6 separate regions of the Homo sapiens genome follow, and all the other regions are linked to region 1. Evidence: promoter capture Hi-C in human tissues and cell types (Jung and others, 2019). All regions are on one chromosome and are shown on one strand. Each heading gives the region's core, a stretch centred on a gene start or on the middle of the fragment in contact. The rest is flanking DNA. Distances are from core to core; before and after follow the strand shown.

Region 1 (4,833 bases), core at 2,260-4,759:
AAGGCAATACAAACATTATTTGGAAAACACAATAGTTGAAAAACATATCCCTCCATTTAAAATAATAAAATTTATCTCACGATCATAAAGTGCTAATTTTGTGTTAAAGGCAGAGAATATCTCAAATTAGAGGAAAATGAAAACATCTGAAAATATGTCATTTTATCAACTATGTTTGGAAGCAATATCTGTTAAAGCTTTTTGCCTGTTTATTCTTATCAGCCAATTTTAAGGCTTTAATCCTTAAAATACATTTTCATGAAAACTCTAATTGTTGACATTTTTCCAGGTAATGACTTTTCAACAATTTAGAATATTTTTCTTTATACAAAGGTTAAATAAACATATTCATGCATGTATTTGCATAGAAAACTTTAAAAAGAATGTATAAGAAACTATTAACAGTAGCGTCCTTGGCCTGGGATTGTCAGGTGAAGAGAGGGAGAGGGATTTAACTTTTTCACTTTAGATCCTTTGGTACAATGTGATATTTTTATTTTTTATTTATTATTTTTTTGAGACAGAGTTTCACTCTCGCCCAGGCTGGAGTGCAGTGGCGTGATCTCGGCTCACTGTAACCTCTGCCTCCCGGGTTCAAGGGATTCTCCTGCCTCAGCCTCCCGAGTAACTGGGACTATAGGCACGTGCCACGACGCCCAGTTAATTTTTGTGTTTTCAGTAGAGAGGGTTTCACTATGTTGGCGAGGCTGGTCTCAAACTCCTGATCTTGTGATCCACCTGCCTTGGCCTCCCAAAGTGCTGGGATTACAGGCATGAGGCACTGTGCCCGGCCCAATCTGATATTTTTAAATGTACATGAGCATGAATTGTTTTAAAAATTAAAAGGACTGGCTGAGCGCAGTGGCTCACACCTGTAATCCCAGCACTTTGGGAGGCTGAGGCAGGTGGATCATGAGGTCAGGAGTTGGAGACCAGCCTGGCCAACATAGTGAAACCCCTCTCTACTAAAAACACAAAAATTAACTGGGCTGGTGGCATGTGCCTGTAGTACCAGTTACTCAAGAGGCTGAGGCAGGAGAATTGCTTGAACCTGGGAGGTGGAGATTGCAGTGAGCCAAGACTGCGCCATTGCACTCCAGCCTGGGTGACAGAGTGAGACTTTGTCTCAAAAAAAAAAAAAAAGAAAATTAAAAGGACTAAATGAGAGGAATATTTTTCTAACTTTTGTATGCATAATCTTGATAACTGTTAAATACCTATACAATTTCTACCCTTTAAGGTCTTATTTTGTCAAATCACAGTATACCCACACATTAATATGTTCTATATACAACTCTAGTCAAAGATATGCAAATGACCTTGAAATCATAATGCAATCTGTTTACCTCAAGGGCAGATGTATCTGAAACCATAGTACAATGCACATGTGTAATAATCCAGAAAAGTTCAAAAAGAAAAGAAGTGATAGCAGATATTTTTGTATGTACAAATTTAGACATGGAATTATTTTATGTTGCTGTATTTTTTTTCTACTTCTGTATATTTAGCTTTTGATTATTAATAATTAAATTACTTTTTGTAGCACATTATAAAATTATATTGATAAAGTTTTTTCATTTTTAAAATGTAACAGGTGTGCAGAATAATTTATTTTTCCTAAGTAAACTATTTGACTCAAAAAGTTAAATTCGATTCTAGATATTAGCCTCAATGTGAGGCTAAATCTCTTGCAAATTCCTGAGTCTTCTTTTCAAAGCATTCTTAATGAAGACAGTTAGTGTTAATTATGTTGTCATTTAAAAAATCCATGTCCACAACAGCTGTATTTTACTCCTTAACCTTGGGAAAATTATTTAATCTCATTAAGCTTCAGTTTCCTCATCTTTTAAATGGGAAGAATAATAAAACTAGTTCAAAAGGCTGTTAAGAGGATCAACTGTAACGATGCATGTAAAATACTTAATGTAGTCTGTGGTACATAATAAGTACTCAGTAATTATTACCTATTATTTTGCTTGTATTTTCACTATTGTTTTACTAATTTTAACATTTCTCAACATTATCTCTAGCTTTTGAAATATATTGCTTGAAAATTGCTTTAGTAGAGCACATTCTTCCCAGTTCTTATGGGAAGAAATGTGTTTAGCTCCCATAACAATTAATCTTCTCTTTTTTGCTATGTAACACAAATAAAATCAAAAGTGAAGTATATTTAAATTTCTGTATTTAATATGCATGAGTTAGCTAACATTTATTTGGCTTACTTATTTACTTACTTTATTTACTTATTAGCTAAGTTAGCTATACTTAACAACAAATACATATTTGAAATGGTTGTGCCTTAAGATAATTCTGAAATGATTGCATGTTGTCAGAAAAGGGTTCCAACAATTAAATTTATGAAGCACTGTTTTCCCACAGAATGAAAGTAAGCTCATATATTCACACTGTAGTGTATAATGGTAGATTTAAAAATAGCCTCAAAGTGCAACTTTTGAAAAAACTAATTGGATTAATACATTAAAAATACCTTAGATAAATAAAACATACACTAACTTAAATGCAAAATTTGAGGATAGATCTTTTGAATTAGCTTAAAATCAGTTGCCTTGATTTCAGTGAAGAGAATTACTGAGGCAGAAGGTAAATTCTTAAATTCTTAGTGTTTTCTGAAGCTATAAGAAGAAGCTAGCTGTACAGTACCTTGATCAAGTTGTGTCCCACAGTGTAGACAGCTGCTAAATTTCCCTTCTCTCCAGGGGCATGCATACCTGTCCCATACCCATGCCAAGCCACTAGATATGGGTTGTGAATTGTAATCCAATATTTGACACGGTCCCCAAACATCTGGAAACAGTATGTGGCATAGTCATTGAAGATATCTATTATGGTATCATTTTTCCACCCCCCATATTTTTCTTGTAGTGCCAAAGGCAAATCCCAGTGGTATAAAGTAACTATAGGTTCAATGTTTCTAAGCACTAGAGCGTCCAGAAGAGTACTGTAGTACTGCAGACCTTTTGCGTTGGCAACTGTTACTATTCCATCGGGGAAAAGCCTTGGCCAGGAAATTGAAAATTGATAAAAAGAAACTCCTATAAAATCCAGGGCTGATAAGTCTTTTTCCAGAAAAATATAACTGTCACTGGAACCATTCGTGCTGCTGACATTTTTAAGGTGTGTGTGGATGAAATGATCCCATATAGAAGGTCCTTTTCCATCCTTCTTCCAACTCCCTTCCACTTGCAATGCTCCAGTCCCAATACCCCAGAAAAAGTTTTTAGGGAAAGTGTCATAGAGAAACAGCTGACTTTCATTTACCGGAGTAAAATTAGGATTTTTAGACCATATAGCTCTTCCATCTCCAGAGAATCCAGTAACAGCTCGTAGCAGAATAAGTGCTGACAGGATGACAGATCTTTGCAATCCCCCGTTGGACATTGTATTCCTATAGCGTGTGGTTATTTCATCAGTGCTGAAGAAAATCCATTCATTCCCTGGAGATCCTGCCGCACAGCCTGGCTTCATTTGCCACCAACTGCTGGACTGTCTTATCAAAGCTTCAGTAAAAGCTTGTGATTGTAAAGCTCTGTCAATGATTAGCTTGAACTGGGAGACTGAGGATGGGTCATAGAGAGCAACGTAATTTGAGGGAGGTGGCCCTATTGCAGTCACCAACGCGTCTCCTTCTCTCTCATTATGGAAAAAATTAGATGAAAATGCATCGGTGACAAGAGTTTGAATGTGTAACTAACACATATGTAAACACTGGATTAAAATCACATTATTTTCCGTGTAGCCTTTCATATTGACCCAAATCTTTTCTGAATGTTTTGAACATTATTGAATAAGGTATATAGCTTTTCTATTTTTAGAGTTTTTGTGTGGTAATTTTATAATCTCATATATCAAGAAAAATAACATATACAAGTATATAGCATTCCTACATACCAATAGTAAAGAATTAGAAAACACAATAAGAAATTACACTTCTCCACAAAATTATAACGCATCTAAGAACAATCTTAATAAATGTTACCTATTTTAGGAAAATTGCAAAAATGTATTGGTAGATTTGAGAGAAGACTTGAATGAGAAAATATAGCACTTTGTGGATGGAAAAATGAAATACTTTTCAATTTAATACATTTAACTTAACTAAAATCCTCTAATCTCTAATTTTATTTTTTATTTTATTTATTTAACTTAACTAAAATTCTCTAATCTCTAATTTTTTAATTAATTAATTAATTTTTAATAAGAGTCTTGCTTTGTAGCCTAGGCTGGAGTGCAGTGGTGTCATCACAGCTCACCGCAGCCTCAACTTCCCAGGCTTAAGCAATCCTCCCTCCTCAGCCTCCAAGTAGCTGGGACAACAGGCACATGCCACCATGCCCAGCTGATTTTTGATTTTTTGGTAGAGGTGGGGTCTAGCTATGTCCCCCAGGCTGGTCCTGAACTCCTGGGCTCAAACAGCCCTTCTGCCTCGGCCTCCTAAAGTGCTTGGGATTATAGGTGTGAGCCACCATGCCTGGCCTAATCCCAAATTTTAGTTCAAGAAAATTATTACGAAAGGCCAGGCACAGTGATTCATGGCTATAATCCCACCACTTTGGGAGGCCAAGGCAGGCAGATCACTTGGGGTCAGGAGTTTGAGACCAGCCTAGCCAACATGTTGAAACCCCGTCTCTATTAAAAATACAATTAGCTGGGCACGGTGGTGGGCACCTGTAATCCCAGCTACCTGGGAGGCTGAGGCAGGAGAATCTCTTGAACCTGGGACGTGGAGGTTGTAGTGAGCTGAGATCGCACCACCGCACTCCAGCCTGGGCAACAGAGCAAGACTCGGTCTCAAAATAAAAAAAAAAAAAA
Region 2 (5,081 bases), core at 1,388-3,887, 250 kb after region 1:
TAAGTATTTTCTTTTGTAAACATTAATATTTTACTGTGTGGATGGTAAATGATGGACAGTTGTTGGCAACTGAATGAAAGAAAGATGCTCCATGTTTTCCTGAAAAAACACTTGGTTCTTGGAGGTGATTTAATATTCAGATTGCATATATATATATTTTTTCTTTTTGAGGCAGTCTTTCTCTGTTGCCCAGGCTGGAGTGCGGTGGCGTGATCTCGGCTCATTGCAGCCTCTAGCTCCCAGGCTCTCACCTCAGCCTCCCGAGTAGCTGGGACTACAGGTGTGCACCACCACACCTGGCCCCTTTCCCTTAGTGTAATGTCTTCTAGGCTCATCCATGTCATAGCATGTATCAGTACTGCAGTCCTTTTAATTGCCAAATGATATCTCATTGAATTGATACACCACATTTTCTTTTTCCATTTATCAGTTGATGGCTATTTGGGTTGTTTCCATTTTGGGGCTATTTTGAATATTACTGCAATTAACATTGGTGTACACATTTTTTTTTGTGGACATATGTTTTTATTTCTCTTGGGTAGATACCTAGGAGTGAAATTGCTGGGTCATGTGTTAACTCTATGTTTAATATTTTAAGGAACCGCCATACTGTTTTCCAAAGCAGCTGCACCATTGTACAATCACATCAGCACTGTATGAGGGGTCCACGTCTCCACATCTTTGCTAACACTTATCAGTTCCTTTTATTATAGCCATCTTAGTGAGTGTGAAGTGATTTTTCATTGTGGTTTTGACTTGCATTTTCTTATGACTAATGATGTCGAGTATCTTTTCATGCGCTTATTGACCATTTGTGTATATTCTCCAGAGAACTGACTTTTCATATCCTTTGTCCATTTTCAAAATTGGGTTATTTAAGTTTTTATTGTTGAGTTGTACATGTTCTTTATATATTCTGGATACAAATCCTTTCTTTATCAGATAGACGATTTGCAAATATTTTATCCCATTATGTGAGTTATCTTTTCAACTTTTTGATGTGTTTTGCAGCACAGAAGTTTTAAAATTTTTGGCTGGGTGAGGTGGCTCACGTCTGTAATGCCAGCACTTTGGGAGGCTGAGGTGGGCAGATCACCTGAAGTCAGGAGTTCGATACCAGCTAGGCTAACGTGGTGAAACCCCGTCTCTACTAAAAATACAAAAAAATTAGCCAAGTATGGTGGTGTGTGCCTATAGTCTCAGCTACTCTGGAGTCTGAGGCAGGAGAATTGCTTGAACCCAGGAGGCGGAGGTTGCAGTGAGCCGAGATCGCGCCATTGCACTCCAGCCTGGGCAATAAGAGTGAAACTCCGTTTCAAAAAAAAAAAAATGATTGCCTGATCCAAGTTCATTCAGAATTATGCCTCTGTTTTTTTCTGAGAGTTTTATAGTTTTCATTCTTACATTTAGATCTTTGATCCATTTGGAGTTAATTTTTGTATATGGTGTTTAATAGGGTCCAAGTCCATTCTTTTGCATGTGTATGGCATCACTTGTTGCAAAGACTATTCTTTCCCCATCATCTTAGCACTCTTGTCAAAAATGATCATAAATGTTAAGGATTATTTCTGGACTCTCAATTCCATTCCATTGATCAACATGTCTATCTTTATGACAGTACAGCACTGTCTCAATATCTATAGCTTTGTGATAAATTTTGAAATGAAAAAGTGTGAATCCTCCAACTTTTTTCTTTTTCTTCAACATTGTTTTGGCTATTCTGGGTCCCTTAAATTTTCATACTAATTTTTGGATTCAGCTTGTTGATTTCTGCAAAGAAGCCAACTGATATTTTGATTCAATCGTTTGGTTTTTAAATTTAAATTACCCACTTCTGTGGAGTCATTTGGAATTTATAAAAAGCTTTTATTTATGCTTCTTGAATAATTATCTCAGTTATCCTTTTCTCTAAGCATTGTTGTACATTTTGTAAATAAGGGCCTTAAAGGTTCAAAGAGGCTATGTAATTATTAGTTTTCTTTTTAACTCTAATACTTGTTCTTTATATTGTAGCTTCTTTCTTAATATGCCCTCAAATAGCCATTTAGAATAATAAAATCTAAATTATAAATGTGATACTACATTGGTGGGAAATGAGTCAATAGCTAAATTAAAAACCATTCTTATTAGGAACATTTTTTTTCAGTTGGAGGATATTTGACTGCTTAGAAAAATTGTGAACAATTTGTGTTAATCCCTTACATCTAGTTAATTGTCTCAGCCAGGGTTCAGATGACATGAAGTCACCCAGTGAGTAAGGAAGGTAGATAATGACAAGTTATTATTTGTAGTACACTGAATGAAGAATATTTTATTTAAAGGGTCCTAATTATTCTTTTTCTAGAATGATTTGAATATGGAACCGTACACCTATTAAAAATCACACTTATGAGGACCACAATGATACAATTTTTTATTTGTTTTTGAGACAGGGTCTTACTCTGTTGCCCGGGCTGGAGTGTGATGGTGCAATGGTGGGCTCAAGTGATCCTCCCATCTCAGCCCCCAAGTAGCTGGGACTACAGGCATGCAGCACCATGTCTGACTAATTTTTAAATTTTTTTGTGGAGATGAGGTCTCACTATGTGGCCCGGGCTAGTCTTGAACTCCTGAGCTCAAGAGAGCCTCCTGCCTTGGCGCCCGAAAGCGTTGGGATTACAGGTGTATTAGTCTGTTTCACACTACTATAAAGAACTACCTGAGACTGGGTAATTTATGAAGAAGAGATTTAATTGACTCACAGTTCTGCAAGACTGGGAGGCCTCATGAAAGTTACAATCATAGCGGAAGCAAAGGGGAAGCAAGCACCTTCTTCACATGGTGGCAGAAGAGGGAGAGAGAGTGAAGGGGGAAGTGCCACACACTTTTAAACCATCAGATCTCTTGAGAACTCACTCACTATCATGAGAAGAGTAAGAGGGAAATCCACCCCATAAGCCAGTCACCTCCATTCAGGTCCCTCCTCTAATTCCACATGAGATTTGGGTAGGAACACAAATCCCAACTATATTAACAGGTATGAGCCACCTTGTCTGGCCCACACTGGTATAATTAATACAAAATAAAGTTACATCTTTTTATTGTTTTTTTTTGCATTATGTAGATATGGTCAAAGAAAATGTCATTAACGTTTGTGAGAGCTTTAAGTTCCACCTGAACTCATTTTTTAAATATTAAGAAAATATTTATTGAGGCCATGTATAGTGGCTCACGCCTGTAATCCCAACACTTTGGGAGACTGTGGTGGGCAGGTCACTTGAGGCCAGGAGTTCGAGACCAGCCTGGTCAACATGGTGAAACCTCATCTCTAATAAAAATACAAAAATTAGCTTGGTGTGGTGGCACTGTACACTGTACAGGTGATGCCTGTAATCCCAGCTACTCAGGAGGCTGAGGCAGAGAATCGCCTGAACCTGGGAGGCAGAGGCTACAGTGAACTGAGGTCATGCCACTGCACTCCAGCCTGGGCAACAGAGTAAGACTCCGTCTCAAAAAAAAAAAAAAAGAGAAAATATTTATTGAGGTAAAATGCATATAACATAAAATTAACCATTTTAATGTGAACAAATGCTGGACTTTTATCATGTAAAATTTCAGGGACACAGAACAATAAAGAAAATAAATATCATAAATGCTCTTATGCCCATCACCCAGATTCGGAATAGTCTTAGCATTGTGCCTTATTTGATGAGGACTTTAATACTTTTTTTCTGGAGATGGAGTTTTGCTCTTGTTGCCCAGGCTGGAGTGCAATGGCGCAATCTCTGCTCATTGCAACCTCCGCCTCCCAGGTTCAAGCGATTCTCCTGCCTCAGCCTCCCGAGTAGCTGGGATTACAGTCATGCGCCACCATGCCTGGATAATTTTGTATTTTTTTTAGTAGAGATGGGGTTTCACCATCTTGGCCAGGCTGGTCTCGAACTCCTGACCTCAGGTGATCCGCCCACCTCGGCCTCCCAAAGTGCTGGGATTACAGGCGTGAGCCACCATGCCCAGCCTAATACATTTTTAAAAACAAAACCTTATAGATAAGTTTAAGGCTGCATGCCTGTTTTTCCTGATTCTATTTCTCAAAGGCAGCCACTATCCCAAATTTGGTTTATTATTGCTATGAATATTTTCATACTTTTGCTATATATATATGTATCTGGAAACACTACATAGAATATATGGAAGGAATATATAGACTGTATAGAATTTTTTGACAAATTTTTATATATACATGGTTTTATATTGAATCATGTTTTGCATGCTTTTAAATTATGTATTTATTTACTTATTTTTTAGACACAGAGTCCCACTCTGTTGCCCATGCTGGAGTGCAGTGGCATGATCATAGCTCACTGCAGCCTGGAACTCCTAGGCTCAAGTGATCTTCCTGCCTGAGCCTCCCAAAGTGCTGGGATTACAGGCATGAGACACTGTGCCTAGCCACATGCCTTTAAAACAAAATGCAACCCTGTGTTTCTGGGACTCATTATGTTGACGCATACCTTTGTAACTGCTAAACAGTATTCCATTGTATGGCTACATCACAATATACTTATACATTCTTTTTCTGATGGACATTTAGTTTCCAGCAAGGTTTTTTAAATTAGAAAATGCAACAATGAACATTCTTTTTTATATTTTTATTTTTTTTGAGACGGATCCTCACTCTGTCATCCAGGCTGGAGTGCAGTGGAGCCGAGGCTCACTGCAACCTCCGCCTCCCAGGTTCAAGTGATTCTCCTGCCTCAGCCTCCCAAGTAGCTGGGATTACAGGCGCACAACACAATGCCTGGCTAATTATTTTGTATTTTAGTAGAGACAGGGTCTCACCGTGTTGCCCGGGCTGGTCTCGAATTCCTGAGCTCGGCAATCCACCTGCCTTGGCCTCCCAAAGTGCTAGGATTACAGGCGTGAGCCACCGCTCTCAGCCAAACATTCTTTCTTTTATTTCTTTTTTCTTTTTTCTTTTTTTTTGAGATGGGGTCTCGTTCTGTCGCCAGGCTGGAGTGCGGTGGCGATCTTGGTTCACTGCAACTTCCAACTCCTGGGTTCAGGCGATTCTCCTGCCTCAGCCTCCCGAGTAGCTGAGA
Region 3 (4,748 bases), core at 2,050-4,549, 200 kb after region 1:
CTTGGCTCACAGCAACCTCTGCCTCCTGGGTTCAAGCGATTCTCCTGCCTCAGCCTCCCGAGTAGCTGGGATTATAGGCATGCACCACCATGCCCGGCTAGTTTTGTATTTTTAGTAGAGACAGGGTTTCTCCATGTTGGTCAGGCTGATATTTAAAATTTTCTCATTTTCCATTTCACAATTTTCTTTTTATTATATTCTTCCTTTTGCTTTATGTTTATCTTGCTCCTTTTTTCAGTGTCTTGAGGTAGAAACTTAGATTACTGATTTGAGGCCCTTTTTCCCCCTAATGTAAACATTTAGTGCTATAAATTTTCTTCTAGGCTGCTTTAGCTGCCTCCCACGTATTTTGATATATTTTCATTTTCATTCAGTTCTATGTATTTTTTAATTGCTTTGGGGCTCTAGGACCCATGAATTATTTAGAAATATGTTGTTTAATTTCCAAGTGTTTGCAGGTTTTCCTGCTGTTACTGACTTCTAGTTTGATTCCATTATGGTCAGAGAACATATTTTATATGATTCAATTTAAATTTGCTGAAGTTTGTTTCATGAGCCAGGGTAGTCTATTGTGGTGAATGTTCCACAGGCACTTGAAAAAAATGTGAATTTTGTTGCTGCTGGGTGCAGTGTTCTATTAGGTTTAGTTGGTTTATAGTGCTGACCTAGTCTTTTATATCCTTGTTGACCTTCTGCGTAGTTGGTTCTATACATTACAGTTGTCCCTCAGTATCCCAAGAGGATTGGGTTCCAGGATCCCTCTGTGGATACCAAAATCCACAGATGCTCAAGTCCATTATATAAATGATGTTGTATTTGCATATAACCTATACACATCCTCCCATATACTTTCAGTCATCTTTAGGTCACTTACAGTACCTAATACAAGGTTAAATGCTGTGCCAAGTTCAAACATATCAATGTAAATGATGGCTAGAGTAGCTATCTTCTGGTTAGCATTTGTATGGTCTTTTTCTATCCTTTTACATGGTTATATCATTATATTTGAAGTGAATTTCTTACAATGACCCTTTTAATAGGGTCATTAAAAATACATTCTAGGCTGGGCGTGGTGGCTCACACCTGTAATCCCACCATTTTGGGAGGCTAAGGCGGGTGGATCACTTGAGGTCAGTTCGAAACCAGCCTGCCAACATGGTACAACCCCGTCTCTACTAAAAATACAAAAATTAGCCAGGCATGGTGGTGCACACCTGTAATCCCAGCTACTTGGGAGGCTGAGGTAGGAGAATCACTTGAACTTGGGAGGCGGAGGTTGCAGTGAGCCAAGATCATGCCACTGCACTCCAGCCTGGGCAACAGAGTGAGACTCTGTCTCAAAAAAAAAAAAAAAAAAAAATCCACTCAGTCTATGTCTAATAAGTTTTTCACTTACATTTAATGGGCTGACATGTTTGAATTGAAGTCTACTGCTTTATTATTTGCTTTCTATTTGTTCTCTCTTTTATTTGTTTTTATTCCTGTTTCTTTCCTTTGTTTAGATTTGAACATTTTTTAGTATTCCATTTTAATTTATCTATTGTGCTTTTGTATATTTCTTTGAATAGTTTTCTTAGAGGTTGCTCTAGATTATAATATACATATTTAAGTTTTCATAGTCTACTTAGAATCAATATTTTGCCATTTCAAGTGGAATGTAGAAGTCTTATCGCATACAAAAACTTTTACCCTCTCTCCCCTTTATAGTATAGTTGTCTTATATATTGCATTTTCATGCATTAAACACCCTACTGAGCAATATTATAATTTTTTTTTTAAACCATCACATATACGTTAAAGATCTCAAAAGAAAAATGTCTATTATATTTACCCGGATATTTACCATTTCTGTTGCTCTTCCTTCATTCTTAATGTCCCAAATTTCCTTCTGTTCTCAGTTCTCTTCTATCTGAAGAACTTCCTTCAGCAGTTCTTTTAGAGAGCAAGATAGTCTCTTCATTTTCCTTCATCTAAAAATGCTTTTATTTCACTTTCATTTACTGACATACATTGTCACCGGATAAAGAATTTCAGTTGACAATGCTTTTATTTTAGCACTTTAAGAATATTGTGGCATTTCCTTCTAGCCTCAATGCTTTACGGTGAGAAAATCCACTGTCATTCAAAATGTTGCTCTCTGGCTGCTTTCAAGATTTTTTCTTTGTCTTTATTTTTCAACAGTTTGATTATGATGTGAATAGCTCTAGATTTCTTCTGGTTTATCCTTTTGGGGACTTGCTGAGCTTCTACAATATGCACGTTTATGTCTTTTGCCATAAAGTTTCCAGCCATTATTTTTGGGATTCCGAAGACACAAATACTAGACCTTTTGTTACTGTCTAATAGGTCTCTGGGACAAATAATTTTGTTTCATTTTTTTCTTCCATGTTCAGATTGGATATTTTCTAATGATCTCTCTTCAAGTTCACTGACTCTTTATTTTCTCCATTTGCTACTAAGTCTATCAAATTTATTGCATTTTATAGTTCTAAAATTTCCATTTGGTTCTTCTTTATTGGTTCTATTTCTTTTCTGAGACTTTCTAGTTTTCCATTTGTTTCAAGAGCATTAGCCCTTACCTCTTGGAGCATTTCTATATCTGCTATCTGCATAATCTTGGCATTGGTGTTTTTTTATTGTTATTTCCTGAGCGAGTTAAAATTCTCCTAATTCTTCATATGTCAAGTAATTTGGGGTTCTATTCTGGACCTTGTGAAATTATGAGATTGTGTCTAATCTAAATCCCATGGAGAAGGTTAATATTTTTGTTTCAGCAGGCCATCAACCTGGCTGGGTTCAGGCCACAAGTTTCAAGGAGCCTTCTGTAGCTGACGGTTTCAATGTCAGTTCTATTTTCAACGCCTTTGCAGTGGTATTCAGATATGTCCCTCTATGGCCCACTCAGTGGCTAGTATAAGACCTTGGCTATGATCTATGTCTCAGTTCAGTTCACAGGGTCTTTGGTATATGTTTAGGATAAGTCTATACATATGCGCTTAAGGATGAACCCAGGAGTTCATAAATATCTTTACAGGGTTGCTTTCCTGAGTTCCTTCCTCCCTATGATCAATCTAGTACTTTCCAATCCCTAGGTCTCCTAATTTTGGTCCTCTATTAATGCTTGATCTCTAGTTACTCTGTTCTACCACATAATTCCCACACTGTATGAGCACTTGTGACCAAGGGAGGACAGAGAGAAAAATAGGCAATAGTGGTTTGCCCTATCTTCTTGAAGCCACAGCCTCTAATTGGAGAGAAGATTATCCTCCATCAGAGTTTTAGGTGCCTGTGGGTCCTTGGTGCCACTGTTCTTGTTGCCACTGCCATGGGGAGACTGCTTGGTGGCTGGAGCATTAGAGAACAAAGAACAAAAAAAGAAAAAGAAAACCAGGGGATTTCCCCAACTGCCTTTGAGCATTATAAGTTCTCTTTCCTGCAACTTAAGCCAGAACCAGAGAGTTTCCTTAAAGCTCTCTCTGTGCTTTGGTGCCTACTTCTAGGTTTCAGACTTCCTTGAGTCCTGGCTGTGAGACAGCAGAGGACAAGTGGGAGACTCCCCACTGGTTAGTTGGCACTTCAAATTCCGTCTTCTTTTCCAATCTGCCTGCTACCATTTACTTTTCAGAGTCCTTAAATATCTGCTCCATGCATTCTGTTCACGTTTTATAGCTGTACTCAGTGGGAGACATGGGGTGGAGTGTGCTTACTCCATGTTACCCAGAACTACCTATTTTATTTTTAAGATTGATTTTCAACTATACTTTGTTTTATATTTTTGCCCTGAATATTAAAATCAGGAGCAAAGTAGTCTTAGACGTTTTAAATTGTAAACATGATTGCCAGATTCATATTAGCTAACAAAGTTTGGCTGATTCACTTAAGTATTTACTATATAAGCTTTCCTAAAAATATGTGAAAATAACTTACCAGTTATCTCCACATGTAGCAACTTTGTTAAGAGTCTGTGATACTGCAATGCTGGTTAGATTATCTTTATGGTTACGAGCCTGAAATATCTCTTGACCAAGCTCTCCAGTATGAGTAGAAATGACCACAAAATGTCCACATGAAAAACCAATCATGATGCGGCCATCACCATACCTATAGCAAAGAAGGCAACAATATGGTAAACAAGGAGATTAGCTATCAGTGGCAACATGGTAAATTAGCAAGTACCTTAAAATTAAGGAATTATAGAATATAATTTATCAAGGGCCTACTTTGTGTCAGATAATATACTAGGTAGTTTTGCATACTAAATCACAGACCATGAATCAGAAAATGTGACGTATAGAATTGAATGTTACAAACAAAAATTGAATACAATTAGTAAGGAAAAACCTACAGATGTCCTTCTGTAATGAGCTTTTTGTACATACCAGTTATAGCAGACATACCAATTATAGCAGACAATGTTGCCAAAGTCCTGCTGAAATTCAAGATCAGCTGGGTTATCTGGTTCATTCAGATTTAAAAAAAACAAAGTTTTCTTGCCAAGCACCACACTTATCTGCCAGAAAAGATTAGGAGATTGTGAAATGAGTTACTTAGTACTTCATGAAAAGACCATTAAGCAAATCCAACAGCTGAACCTAATTTGTGAAAATAATAAGCCCAATTTAGATGTGCTAAATGCTGTAACTAGTACAATATGACTAAAAATGTATTTACTAATATATAAACTGGTAAGCGTCCTTGGTTTTACACATCTTCAATATACCCTTTGAAATATACTACAATTCCTTTGT
Region 4 (4,488 bases), core at 1,049-3,548, 170 kb after region 1:
CTTGATCTTTACAATGATAATATATTACTATAGTATGTATTCTCAATAGGGTCTTGATAGAGCCCTGAAGGAGGCAAAAATTGATTCTTGGAGGGGCAAAAAAATCTTAGCTATTATAATGGTTTGTGGCCCTCCAAAACTCAGTCGTATCTAACAAAATCTTAGTCCTTAGTATTTAATTTTTCTCAGCAAGGAGTAATCAAATTAAATTAATGTAATCAATTAAATTAAAGTTAATTTTTATTTTTAGAAGGTAGTGATTCTAAAAAGTTGAGAACACTTTGCTATAGGAATTGGTGTGTTTTTCTTAGAAAATCTGAAGCTCTATCACAAGAGTAATAGCAAATGTAACTAAAATGTAAATATATGTTCCTGTGGTCTTTTTTCTCTGCCTGGTACATAATTCTAAATATAAACTCATCATTAATCTTTTAAAGTTCATTCCTCACTTTATTCATACTTCCTAAACAATAATAGCTAACATTTTTCAAGTGTTATTATCTGCCAGATACTGTTCTAGGGGATTAGCTTATTTATCTTTCACAACTACCCTTTTGCAATTTATTAATACTTTCTTGTATCCATTTTAGAGATCCAGAAACTGAGGCAAACAGAGGCTCCTCTGTATATAAGGTTACACAGCTGGTACATGACAGAGCTGGGCAGTAGGGCTCTGCCTCTGAACTCTTCACCTGGTTAACTCATCAGCTTTCAAAGTGAGGTTAAAGAGTAATCACCCCTCTCCATTATCAATCCATTACCTCAAATCCTTTCCAAGTCTAGCAGCACATGACAAGTGCCCACAGTTAAATGCAAAAGAGTTGAGATGATATATTTCCCCTCAGTCATCGCAGCCATATTCCTATTTCAGTGAGTACTAATCCAAGTTTTGAAAACTTCTCAGGGTGTCCCAATTATCTTAAATAATACTGTAAAATTACCTAAATTTTTCTTATAACAAAGTTAATTTAGTTCACTTAAAATTTAAAAATGAAAATTTGCTATAGAATGATTTGTAAAAGGAAAGTTGTAAAATTAATAACAAACGCTCCCAAAACAAGCTCTTTTACATAGTTGTAGAAATGCCAGTTTTAGGTGAAATAATATTAATGATTACAATAGCTAATTATGTGTCTTTACTATTGATCAGGCACTGTGCTAAAAGACCTCATTCTCATTTTTAAATCCTTACAAATATCCCGTGGGTTAGATATTATTCTTCCTACTTTAAAGAAATAGGATCTAGGGTTCAGAAAGGTTAAATAACATGTCCAAGCTTACACAGAGCTGGAATTTGAACCCAGACATGTCTGACTGTGAAGTCTATGCCCCTCATTGCTAGTCTATATTGCCAGGTTTCCCTTCTTCCCTGCCCTTGAACTAACCAGGCCCTTCATCCTGCTCTAGGCCCTCTCCTGCAATGCTCACCTCTGGGAAACCAGTGATGGTACACTAGTCCTTAGCTCACCTTTTAATACACAACAGAATTTCACACAATAAGGATAAATGTGCCTCGGTTTTCCCATCTGGAAAATAGAGAAAAAACCAATCCTATCTCATAGGATTGTTGGGAGGGTTAAATGAATTAATACATGATAAGTGCTTAGAAAAATGCCTGGCCCACATGAGCACTCAATATATGGTGATATTTTTCCTTGTATATGTTTTTGTAATTTACACAATCTGTTCTCTTTGGACACATTTAGATTTCAATTAGTAATGTTATAATACCATGCATTTTATACCTCCACAAAATGCAGAATAAACATTTTTGAATTATAATTTTAATGATTAACATTATAATTAATGAGTACTCAGGGGTTCTTAAACTGACATGTTTGAATTTTAGGAGGGGGAAGGCATATAGTGTCTGTGCTGAGAAATTTTAATTATATAGAAGGGGTGATCCTCCTTTGATATTCTTATGTTCTTTCCTTTTTTTTTTTTTTGAGACGGAGTCTCGCTCTGTCACCCAGGCTGGAGTGCAGTGGTACAATCTTGGCTCACTGCAATCTCTGCCTCCTAGGTTCAAGCAATTCTCCTGCTGGGGCAGGAGATTACAGTAGCTGGGATTACAGGCTCACTGCAACCTCCACCTCCCAGGTTCAAGCAGTTCTCCTGTCTCAGCCTCCTGAGTAGCTGGGATTACAGGCACATGCCACCACGTCCGGCTAATTTTTGTATTTTTAGCTGAGATGAGGTTTCATCATATTGGTCAGGCTGGTCTAGGACTTCTGACCTCAGGCGATCCATCCACCTTGGCCTCCCAAAGTGCTGGAATTAGAGGCGTGAGCGGCTGCACCCGGCCCCATTTTTTTTTCCCCCATTTCCCCACTGGATACCTCTTACACAATTTCCATTCTTACTTGCTGCCATACCTCCAGGGCAGCAATAGGACAGCTGGATGCAAGGTACAAGTCCTGAGCCAGGTTATAATCGTTGGTAAACATGGCAAGGTGTCCTGCCAAAAGATTGTAGTCCTCTATTCCCTACAAATAAAAGCAATTCTGATGAGAAAAAAAATGCAAGAGTTTAACTTTTTTTTTTTTTTAAGGACTTTGATCAGTAGGAAGTGGTAACGTTCTATCGATTCACTTGTTTAAGAGGTAAGATTAAATGCAAAAAATTTAGACTGCATTTAACTTAAAATAGCATTTAAATTTTAACTTGATAATTCTATAACATGCTGTTTACCTTTATTTGTTCCAAGGACATCACTATGCCAACATTTCCAATTCTCCGATAAACACGGATTGCAAACTCCACTTCCATGTGATGTAGACAAGCTCTGGCCAACTCATTCCAGGCAGCCTCATCATTCAGAATCCTGCACATTTCCCAAGCATCAGAAAACCTGGGATGTAAGAACATAAGCTTAATCAGAATGTTCCACTTGCCACATGTTAGGCAATTTTCAGACTACATGTCATCTAATAGCGTGCCCCAGATAAACTGTCTAAAACATTTCTTAACCTGTAATTGTCATTTACAAGTAATGAAAAAACACTTAAGCTTTCTTCCTTTTTTTACAGATAAATGTTTTTCCCTAAATTTCTTTTATTAATCTGAATCTACTCTGTAATAAGCCTACTCAATTAACTAAGCTAATCCTATTCATTTATTTCTTTTTATTTCACACATAGATGAATATTATTTTTGTTCTCATATAAGTCTAATAAAATTAGTATTCTATTCCTATAAATTTAGAAGTTTAAAACAGGGGTCAGCAAACTATGGCTTATGGGCCAAATCTAGTCAGGTGCTGTTTTGAAAATACAGCTTGAGTGGAACAAAGTCACTGATCAGCCCACTCTTTTTTTTTTTTTTTTTTTTTTGAAGACGGAGTCTCACTCTGTTGCCCAGGGTGGGTGGAGTGCAATGGCGTGATCTCACCTAACTGCAACCTCGGCCTCCTGGGTTCAAGTTATTCTCCTGCTTCAGCCTCCCGAATAGCTGGGACTACAGGCGCATGCCATGACACCCGGCTAATTTTTTGTATTTTTAGTAGAGACAGGGTTTCATCGTGTTAGCCAGGATGGTCTTGATCTGCTGACCTCATGATCCGCCCGCCTCGGCCTCCCAGAGTGCTGGGATTACAGGTGTGAGCCACCGTCCCCGGCCCAGCCCACTCTTTAATGGATTGTCTGTGGCCACTTTCCTGCTACAACAGCCAGACTGAGTAGCTGCGATAGAGACCCTATGGCCCGTAAAGCTTGAAATATTTGCCATTTGGACCTTAACACAAAAGGTTTTCCGACCTCTGGTTTAAAACATGAACATAAATGCCAATTAAACTTTTTGTGGAACCTCTACATGAGTGAATATATTACATCCATCTATCTATTCATTCATCCATTTATCTATTCACCTATCCATTTTTTCATCCAACACACATTTACTGAACTCGTTACATGCTTGGAAACATGATACAAAAATCAACCACAGTTGCTGTCCTTAAGGCAGTCACAATTGGGGAAGGTGGAAGAGACAGATAAGGAAACAAATGACTATAGCATAGTTTGACAGAGGTAACTGAGTACTTACAATAGGTAACTCTTTGTGCTAAGTCTTTTGCATAAATTCTCTTACCCTAATAACCCTACCCACTAAGTATTATTATTATGTCTCCTTTATAGATTAGGAAAATGAGGCTTAGAGACGTCAAAAGACTAGCCCAAGGCACACAGAGGTAAGTGGTGTCATGCTCTTCACCACTGTGTATACTGCATCCTGGCTCTGAGGCAACACATCAGAAAGACCCCAAGCAGGACTGCCTGTGGTGGTGGGGAAGTCGGGGAAGGCTTCCTGGAGCAGGAGATGGCTCCACTTATCGCTGATGGGTAAAGAAAGAGGGGTTACTACATTCAGAGCAGGGAAAGGGCATTCCAGGAAGAATCATGAAATATATGCAATTTCAGCAGCCAGTGGAACAGAGAGGGACTTGAGTGGAGACAGTTGAGCTGGTGTTAAATCATGAAGTGCCTAGTA
Region 5 (4,426 bases), core at 1,452-3,951, 130 kb after region 1:
GGAGGATTGTTTGAGCCTAGGAGTTCGAGACCAATCTGCGCAATGTGGCGAGACCCTGCCTCTATTAAAAAAAAAAAAAAAAAAAAAACAAGAAAAGGGAAAAAAACCCACAAAAAAATACTTCCAAATCATATACATGATATAGAACTTGTATCTAGAACATATAAAGAACTCTTAGAACTGAACAATAAAAAGACAAACACCCGGCTGGGTGTGGCGGCTCATGCCTGTAATCCCAGCACTTTGGGAGGCTGAGGCCGGCGAATCGCATGAAGTCAGGAGTTGGAAACCAGCCTGGCCAACATGGTGAAACCCCGTCTCCACTAAAAATACAAAAGTTAGCCGAGCGTGGTGGCACACGCCTGTAGTCCTAGCTACTCAGGGAGCCTGAGGCACGAGAATCACTAGAATCTGGGAGGCAGAGGTTGCAGTAAGCCGAGATCATGCCACTGTACTCTAGCCTGGGCAATAGAGCAAGACTGTCTCAAAAAAAAAAAAAAAAAAAAAGTAAGGCAGACAGCAGCTGTTGGCAGGGATGTGGAATGGAGAGACGAACGCTTGTGTGCTGATGGTGGGAATGTAAGAGGGTGCAACTTCTGTGGAAAACATTTTGGAGTGGCCAGGGAAGGGCAAGAAGGCCAGTGGGGCTGCAACATGGTGAGTAATCAGACCTGAGGCAGGAGGAGGAGGCTGGGCCTGTTCATGGACAGACTTGGAGGCTCTTTGTTTTTGCAGGTGCAATAAAAAGCCAAGAGAACCACGAACCAGATATACTGGAGATAGCCTGAGAGCCCTTGCTCATGGGGGCTGAGGGTGAGAGGTATCTAGATAATATGTAGGTTTCTGTCCTGTCCAACTGGTTGGCTGGAGCTGCCGCTTCCTGAGGAAGGGAAAACAGAGAGAGGTTGTGGAGGGACATCTCGACTCCTATCTAACCAGGCTAAGTGTGAGATGCTGTGTCAGAGATGAATTACTTTCACCTTTCCCTTTGGTAAAAGAATATCCTGAGTTTTGGCACGGCTTTTGGCTTCTCAATTAAAGACTACATTTCCCTGCCTTCCTCCGCAGTATGTGTGGCCACGAGTAAGTGCTTCCAATGGAATGAAGTAGAAGGAATATGTGTAGCTTCCACGTGACAAAAATGGGACTTGGAAAGAAAAAGAAATGGAGATTATTTCCAAATCTCTGGAAGCCAACATTTTTACAATATATTCTCCTGAATTATATCACAGACCCTAAAAAAAAATACTTTTATTAGCTGGCTCTAGTTTTAATGGAGTGATTAAAAAGACCCCTGTGAGATTTGACAAAATCTGGTCTAGTCAGAATCATACTGCTTGGCTAAACAACCTTTGTCATTATGGAGATGATAATACCTGCATTTTAGCATTAAAAAAAATACATCAAAAGGTGGTTGTCAGATTGTTCAAATCTGGCAAGTTCCATGGTGCACTGAAAGGAGTTGATGCTGATACACAGTGAAAAGCTGCGTGCACGCTGTGGGCCCTTGCGCCCAGAAGGTGCGTGGGCGCTCTGCCACTCACCTGCACGTGCCAATCACAGTTCCTCCTCCGTTCGCAGGTACTGGGTACAGTCTGAAATCTTTTTCAGCTGAGCAGCGTTTAATCTTTCTGAACACATAGGACATGTGCTTTCAGTGTTTAGCATGCTGTTTAGGGGAGGGAAAGGCAGAGTAAATTAAATATATAACATTCCTTTAGCTTTGGGTTACTCTAATGAGAAAGACAACAACTTTCTGTCTACACCTCTTAACACATGTCCACCATGCAATTTGAGAATCAGAACTATTCAGTCTCATGCAAGATCCTCTTTAAAGATAATATTCTCAAAGGTCACAGGAGGTTCTTCCCAGAAGACAATTTGAGTCTTTAGAGATCCTTAGGAACACAAATAGAAGAATGCTTCGGAAGAAAAGAGGTAGAATGAAAGGCCTGTGTCGGGAGAAATCAGTGAGACTGAGTGACGTGATGCACACTTACATCTTCAATTCTGAGTATAGAGCAGGGAAGTCACAATGTGGACACACCGTCCAGTCATCTTTCAACATGTGTCGACCCTGGAAACAGGATGTTTAAGAGTTAAATTCATCTTTATTTTAAAAACTCCCACTGTTAGTCAATTTTTTTTTTTTTTTTGACGGAATCTTGCCCAGTCACCCAGGCTGGAGTGCAGTGGCACATTGTTGGCTGTCTGCAACCTCCACCTCCTGGGTTCAAGCGATTCTTCTGCCTCAGACTCCTGAGCACCTGGGACTACAGGCGTGCGCCACCATGCTTGGCTAATTTTTGTGTTTTAAGTAGAGACAGCATTTCACCATGTTGGCCAGGCTGGTCTTCAACTCCTGACCTCAAATGATCCGCCTGCCTCGGCCTCCCAAAGTGCTAGGATTACAGGCATGAGCCACTGTACCCTGCCTGTTATTCAATTATAATAATTGAATTCCAGTTATAAGTCAGACCTCTAAATTATAAAATCATTGCTATTTCACATGTGTGGGTAACAGAGAGACAGCATTAAAAGGATTAAAGCTAGGTTTTACTTATCAGATTCATGTTTAAAGGAATAATATTCAGTTTTGTGATATTACCTGAATTTAGTTTTCTTTAAAATAAAGCTTAAATTAATCCAGTGAATTATAAATAACCTGATATGTTAAAGTTCTCTGATACTAGGTCTCAATATTATAATAAAAACTACTGCTTATTAAGTGCTGCAGCCTGCCAGGATGGCACCAAGGAATTGTGTAGCTCGTCAATCTGTGGTTGATTCAGTAGGCAGGTGTTACTACAGAGGACTGAGCCCGGGATAGTCTGATCCCCGAGTCTGTGCTATTTGGTCCTGCAGTGATAGTGCCTCCACTATTATTATTTGCTTTGAATATCACCTTTAACTGTATTGACTATGAAATAAAATGCTAGATGTTGCAGGAAATTTGAGGGATAAGATTATTTTAAAAGTGAAGAAAATATTGACATACATCAAGTATTCAAATGGGTTACAAATATATATGCAAAGAAAGGGAAATTACTATAAAGGAACTCACTGTTGCAATGCAATATGGGATACTGTTTTTACATCCAGGACAGAGGAGTTCACACTCTGGGAGAAGAAATTTGCAGAATGGACATGGAGTCGTGGCCTCTTCTATCTCAGATATATCGGGTCTCCTGTGAGGAAGAATCATGTCATTTAAAAATGCCGTTTTATTCATGTACCGGGGATGGCAAAGAGAAAGCATATTTGGAAAACCAGGGACATATGACACACCTACTTCATAGTCAGACTCTGGGCTTAGAGAGATACTTACAAGCTCACACCAGCCCTTGATCCACTCCAGGGAGGAGGAAGAGTACCTAGGATTGGTTAGGTTCTAGGGTGTTACATGGGCCACCTTTGGGAACTGGAGTTCATAGCACATTCAACGGCAGAAAGCATGGGTAGGTCTTGCGGTCTTCTCTCTTCCTGTGCTACTGGAGTGGTGAGCTTGGTATTTTCCCTCTGTCTCTCCCTTTTGTGTAACAGAAGTGGTACAAGTTATACCAGCACCGTCCAATAGAACTGTCTGTGACAATGGAAATGTTTGGATTCTGTGCTATCCAATATGGTAGCCATGAGCCACATTTGAACACTTGAAATACGGGTAGTGCGAAGAACTAAGTTTAACTTTTATTCCATTTTAACTAAATTTAAATAGCCACATGTGGCTAGCAGGTACCATATTGGACCACATAGCTATAAACCATTTGTGCATGGGGAGAGAATGACTAGCATCTCCTCCCAGCCAGAGCCCCAGCTAGCGTGGTTCTATGCTGTTGGGGTAAACATGATCTTGCATTTTCTAGTTACCTTCTCCCCATCCCACTCTCCATACTAGCAGGTATTCTGGGTCAGACCGATTTGGTCTGAAGCTACTTAGACTTAAAAAAAGGAGTATTCTATGTACTCCCATCCAGCTTAGAGCTCTCTGCCATGAGGGTAGCTCCCAAGCCCAGCTACCAGTGAAGTGTCATTTGCTTCCATTTGTCATTACCAATCCAGTCATCTCCCTGGGCTAAGGTCTGGATCCAAGATTCAGGTACCTGGGTCTCGTCATAATGTAATGAACAGGAACCCCACATGTCATCACTTCTGAAAAAGTGGTTGTTTAGAATTACTCTATGACTGCAATGACTTTTTTCTTTTCCAAATGCAAGGGCTACTTTTTCCTAGTTTTTCTTTAGAAAAACCTAGAAAAACCAGGCTACTGACTGCTTTCTGAAGCAAGGACGTGCCTAAGGGCTTTTGGGGCTGCACAGGATTTGGAAATGAGCTCTCTGCTGGCAGTGGGCCCTGTGAATATGAAGTTCCTCACACTGAGAGGAACTTCCACTGAACGTCCACTATTTTCTTCATCCCTCTTTGGCAG
Region 6 (5,168 bases), core at 588-3,087, 150 kb after region 1:
CTCTTAACAGCAAACATCAATGTAATTATTAATGTCTGTTTTCATCACAAAACATACTTATCACAATTACTCCAAATAGTAACTCTGTTCCATCTTTTTTTTTTAACTCTAAATGTGAACCAGGAGAGGAAATTACAAGGTTTTTGTTAGTAATACAAATGGAATGCATACCTCTCAGCAATGCCTGGTTTAAACAATAGTCTGTATATTTGTCAGACAAGTAGGGAAGATGACATTCAAGTAGCCAGTAGATGCTGGTTAAAGATATGACTGTCTTTCCTTTGGCTTGGGGCTTAAATATATTAAGCATAGAGGAAGAAGGACCCCAAAAGCTACTGGAATTCCAACTCATTGTTTACATTTACCCGTGGGAGTTGGGGCCCAATAGAATACTAAAGTATAACAACCATGCTGCGCCTCCAGCTGGAGGAAGAGGGAGTTTATAAGAGAAAGGCATAAAGCAAAGTGGGGAAAAGTATGTGTGTGTTTTGAAGGTGGGAGGAGGCCCACACACCCCCCACCAATATACACATCTTATATAAGACAAACCATATTCTTACAAACTTAGAAAAACTGCTTTAGTGAAATGGTGGTAGTAATGTTAGGACAGAAATGTCATCTGTCAAGTTAAACATTGGCAATTCTAAAGTTGCCTATCTGTACTCCTTTTCTTTTTTTTAACTCTGTTTTCTCTAATTATCTTAATAACTTTGCAAGAAGTCATTTGGGAAGCCAAAGCATCCCAAGAAGCTTTTACCTAATTAATTTGTTTCCTTGAAGACTGAAATAAATATTTTCTTGTGAATCCTAACATCAATTCTTATGGTCATTTCGTGGATTTTAAAAAACAGAATAACACAAAAAGAACAAATATTTTATGATTCCACTTATACGAGGTACCATGAATAGTCAAATTCACAGATACAGAAAGTAAAATCATGGTTACCAGGGTCTGGGGGAAAGAGGGCAATGGGGAATTATTATTTAACGGGTACAGGGACAGTCTGGGATGATGAAAAAGTTCTAGAGATGGACAGTGGTGATGGCCGCATAACAACGTGAATGAATGTACCAAATTATACACTTTTAAATGGAAATTTTATATTATATATATTTTAGCACAATAAGAAAACAAAACAAAACACAAATAACATTATGTATGGTCCATGAAATGAAAATCTGAAAATTATTTCAGTAGTTTCTAAAAATAATTGCAAACATGAGAAGAAAACCTCTAAACAGGCATTCTCAGAATATCAAATTATCCTTTGGACTGTCCAAATCTTTGAAAAACACATCTTGTGTATATCACTGTTCACCAAAGTAAGCATTTTTCTTAATTTGTAACTCAATTTTTTAATGAAAATATTTACATTTTCAAAAATCATCTTGCATTTCCTATCACCTTCATTTTGAAATCTTTGATTTACTACTGGCTGATAAATAGCAGGATTTGGGAAATCTAGCCTCTCTTGGAATTCACACAGAAAAACCCTTAATTTTTGAAAATAGTCCTTTTTAATAATACCATCTCACCTTGAAGTAGCAGGGATCTTCAAATCCAACACATAACATAGATACATGTGTGTCTATGTATAAATGGTAAACATTTACACCAGGCGCATTCTTGTATGTATACCAATCTGATAATTAGATCATAAGAGACAAAGTGTTTTTATGATAAACATCTTGAAGAGAACCAGGGAAAAAATGATATTTACCAATAATATCTGCATAGATTTCCATTTTGTTGTGTTGCTGAGCCAGTGTGAAAGCTTCATTGTTGCATTTGGACATGACAAGAAACTGGATGGCAGACCCATAGTCACCAAGCTGTAGAAAAAACCTAAAGCAAAGTACTTTAATTAGCTAGACTCTTAATATAAATTTGTGATTTACAAAATTTTTCAACCAGGAGAAACCATTTAAAAATCAAAATTTTTAGATAAATTGCAGTTCTTTTTTTTTTTTTTGAGATGGAGTCACACTCTGTCACCCAGGCAGGAGTGCAGTGGTGCAATCTCAGCTCACTGCAGCCTCCGCCTCCTGGGTTCAAGCGACTTTCCTGCCTCAGCCTCCCAAGTAGCTGGAACTACAGGCATGCACCACCACACCCAGCTAATCTTTTGTATTTTCAGTAGAGATGGGGTTTCACCATGTTGGCCAGGCTGGTCTCAAACTCCTGACCTCAGGTGATCCACCTGCCTCAGCCTCCCAAAGTGCTGGGATTACAGGTGTGAGCCACCATGCCCAGCATGCAGTTCTATATTATATGCTTACACTTGAAAGACATACTCTTGTCTGCTGACCACGACAGCCTTTGAATTTAAACGCTTAGACCTGATAAAAAAATAAAGACTAAATATTCCTTTTGAATTAATATATTTGATGATAGAAGGCAGAGGCTTACTTTTATGGTTAGTTTTTGAAAGTCCAAAAATATTAATGTATTATGTTACCTGGCTACCATTTTGGCTCCATCCAGAGACTGGGTCTCTCTAACAATATTGACAGCTTTTTCAGGATTATTGAGGTGATCCAGATAGATGCGGATTACACTTTGCCACTGTTTTGCATTTTCATAAGCTACAACAGCTTCTTTGTATCTGTAAAAAAATAGCTCAGATAAACTTTTTTTAACACTGTCAATTTGGGGAGAAAATGTTGATAAATGTTTAGGACACTTTTAAATTTTATTGATGGTGACTGCTTATTTTTCCTGAACTTCTTTTTCCTTTATCAGAAAAATACCAGGAACCATCCCACTAAAATGTTCTGTTTAGGAATTTGATAAATGAACAGTAAAATATCAATATTAAATTGTATTTTCCCATCTGAATCAAAGCTATATATTTTTAAACATTTTACTGTTTTTTTCCTTTTAAGTAGGAAGATTATAATAGTAATATAGAAAATGTAGATTTTTTTCACAATTATAGATACAGCTTAATGTTGATATATAAAACCTTTATATATCCTTAGTCACAAAGCTCAAACTTTAGTGTTGACCTCTAGATAGAGCTCAGGACCCCTCTTCAGTTCCTGACCAGCTCTCAGCTCCATTTCAACAAGACATTCAGTGTATATCTCTATTTCCTAAGGTTACTTTTCTAAAAGTATTTAAAAGGGTATTAAATCTCCTTTAAAAGTTCCTTAATAGATATTTCTAAGTTAATTTCCAGAGGCTATAGAAAGTTACACTTCTTTAAAAAATTTTTTAATTTTTTTTTATTATTTTTTATTATTATACTTTAAGTTTTAGGGTACATGTGCACAACGTGCAGGTTTGTTATCTATGTATACATGTGCCATGTTGGTGTGCTGCACCCATTAACTCGTCATTTAGCATTAGGTATATCACCTAATGCTATCCCTCCCCCCTCCCCCCACCCCACAACAGGCCCTGGTGTGTGATGTTCCCCTTCCTGTGTCTATGTGTTCTCATTGTTCAACTCCCACCTATGAGTGAGAACATGAGGTATTTGGTTTTTTGTCCTTGCAATAGTTTGCTGAGAATGATGGTTTCCAGCTTCATCCATGTCCCTACAAAGGACATGAACTCATCATTTTTTATGGCTGCATAGTATTCCATGATGTATATGTGCCACATTTTCTTAATCCAGTCTATCATTGTTGGACATTTGGGTTGGTTCCAAGTCTTTGCTATTGTGAATAGTGCCACAATAAACATACGTGTGCATGTGTCTTCATAGCAGCATGATTTATAATCCTTTGCGTATATACCTAGTAATGGGATGGCTGGGTCAAATGGTGTTTCTAGTTCTAGATCCCTGAGGAATCACCACACCGACTTCCACAATGATTGAACTAGTTTACAGTCCCACCAACAGTGTAAAGGTGTTCCTATTTCTCCACATCGTCTCCAGCACCTGTTGTTTCCTGACTTTTTAATGATCGCCATTCTAACTGGTGTGAGATGGTATCTCATTGTGGTTTTGATTTGCATTTCTCTGATGGCCAGTGATGATGAGCATTTTTTCATGTGTTTTTTGGCTGCATAAATGTCTTCTTTTGAGAAGTGTCTGTTTATATCCTTCACCCACTTTTTGATGGGGTTGTTTTTTTCTTGTAAATTTGTTTGAGTTCTTTGTAGATTCTGGATATTAGCCCTTTGTCAGATGAGTAGGTTGCAAAAATTTTCTCCCATTCTGTAGGTTGCCTGTTCACTCTGATGTTGGTTTCTTTTGCTGTGCAGAAGCTCTTTAGTTTAATTAGATCCCATTTGTCAATTTTGGCTTTTGTTGCCATTGCTTTTGGTGTTTTAGACATGAAGTCCTTGCCCATGCCTATGTCCTGAATGGTATTGCCTAGGTTTTCTTCTAGGGTTTTTATGGTTTTAGGTCTAACATGTAAGTCTTTAATTCATCTTGAATTAATTTTTGTATAAGGTGTAAGGGGAAGGGATCCAGTTTCAGCTTTCTCCATATGGCTAGCCAGTTTTCCCAGCACCATTTATTAAATAGGGAATCCTTTCCCCATTGCTTGTTTTTGTCAGGTTTGTCAAAGATCAGATAGTTGTAGATATGCAGCATTATTTCTGAGGGCTCTGTTCTGTTCCATTGATCTATATCTCTGTTTTGGTACCAGTACCACGCTGTTTTGGTTACTGTAGCCTTGTAGTATAGTTTGAAGTCAGGTAGTGTGATGCCTCCAGCTTTGTTCTTTTGGCTTAGGATTGACTTGGCGATGCAAGCTCTTTTTTGGTTCCATATGAACTTTAAAGTAGTTTTTTCCAAGTCTGTGAAGAAAGTCATTGGTAGCTTGATGGGGATGGCATTGAATCTATAAATTACCTTCGGCAGTATGGCCATTTTTCACGATATTGATTCTTCCTACCCATGAGCATGGAATGTTCTTTCATTTCTTTGTATCCTCTTTTATTTCACTGAGCAGTGGTTTGTAGTTCTCCTTGAAGAGGTCCTTCACATCCCTTGTAAGTTGCATTCCTAGGTATTTTATTCTCTTTGAAGCAACTGTGAATGGGAGTTCACTCATGATTTGGCTCTCTGTTTGTCTGTTATTGGTGTATAAGAATGCTTGTGATTTTGGCACATTGATTTTGTATCCTGAGACTTTGCTCAAGTTGCTTATCAGCTTAAGGAGATTTCGGGCTGAGACGATGGGGTTTTCTAGATATACAATCATGT

Evidence for each region. Contacts are between HindIII fragments. The study calls those that stand out against the background at their distance.
Region 2: a contact is called between a fragment that was not itself captured here and the fragment with the promoter of KLB in region 1, in 1 of the 25 tissues and cell types used here (lymphoblastoid cells).
Region 3: a contact is called between a fragment that was not itself captured here and the fragment with the promoter of KLB in region 1, in 7 of the 25 tissues and cell types used here (H1 embryonic stem cells, aorta, liver and 4 more).
Region 4: a contact is called between a fragment that was not itself captured here and the fragment with the promoter of KLB in region 1, in 5 of the 25 tissues and cell types used here (liver, lymphoblastoid cells, mesenchymal stem cells and 2 more).
Region 5: a contact is called between a fragment that was not itself captured here and the fragment with the promoter of KLB in region 1, in 2 of the 25 tissues and cell types used here (IMR-90 fibroblasts and lymphoblastoid cells).
Region 6: a contact is called between a fragment that was not itself captured here and the fragment with the promoter of KLB in region 1, in 3 of the 25 tissues and cell types used here (adrenal gland, lymphoblastoid cells and mesenchymal stem cells).

What each region holds. Positions count from the first base shown.
Region 1 is chr4:39,405,606-39,410,438 of GRCh38, reverse strand. KLB (klotho beta) reads right to left here and starts at 3,509. Exons shown (of 5, transcript NM_175737.4): 1 at 2,665-3,509. The coding sequence starts at 3,489. The HindIII fragment of the contact is 19,436 bases long and covers 2,676-4,833 here.
Region 2 is chr4:39,151,957-39,157,037 of GRCh38, reverse strand. No RefSeq gene overlaps it. Among named protein-coding and RNA genes, the nearest start is that of WDR19, 28 kb to the left of the region's middle. The HindIII fragment of the contact is 6,621 bases long and covers 1-5,081 here.
Region 3 is chr4:39,204,916-39,209,663 of GRCh38, reverse strand. It overlaps WDR19 (WD repeat domain 19), which reads right to left. Exons shown (of 37, transcript NM_025132.4): 8 at 4,398-4,510; 9 at 3,928-4,101. Among named protein-coding and RNA genes, the nearest start is that of WDR19, 25 kb to the right of the region's middle. The HindIII fragment of the contact is 8,963 bases long and covers 1-4,748 here.
Region 4 is chr4:39,230,163-39,234,650 of GRCh38, reverse strand. WDR19 (WD repeat domain 19) reads right to left here. Exons shown (of 37, transcript NM_025132.4): 18 at 2,695-2,854; 19 at 2,379-2,489. Among named protein-coding and RNA genes, the nearest start is that of WDR19, 50 kb to the right of the region's middle. The HindIII fragment of the contact is 4,326 bases long and covers 136-4,461 here.
Region 5 is chr4:39,275,782-39,280,207 of GRCh38, reverse strand. WDR19 (WD repeat domain 19) reads right to left here. Exons shown (of 37, transcript NM_025132.4): 34 at 3,065-3,188; 35 at 2,001-2,077; 36 at 1,545-1,669. The coding sequence ends at 1,558. Among named protein-coding and RNA genes, the nearest start is that of RFC1, 88 kb to the left of the region's middle. The HindIII fragment of the contact is 8,469 bases long and covers 1-4,426 here.
Region 6 is chr4:39,250,584-39,255,751 of GRCh38, reverse strand. WDR19 (WD repeat domain 19) reads right to left here. Exons shown (of 37, transcript NM_025132.4): 25 at 2,460-2,606; 26 at 1,722-1,846. Among named protein-coding and RNA genes, the nearest start is that of WDR19, 71 kb to the right of the region's middle. The HindIII fragment of the contact is 3,716 bases long and covers 1-3,695 here.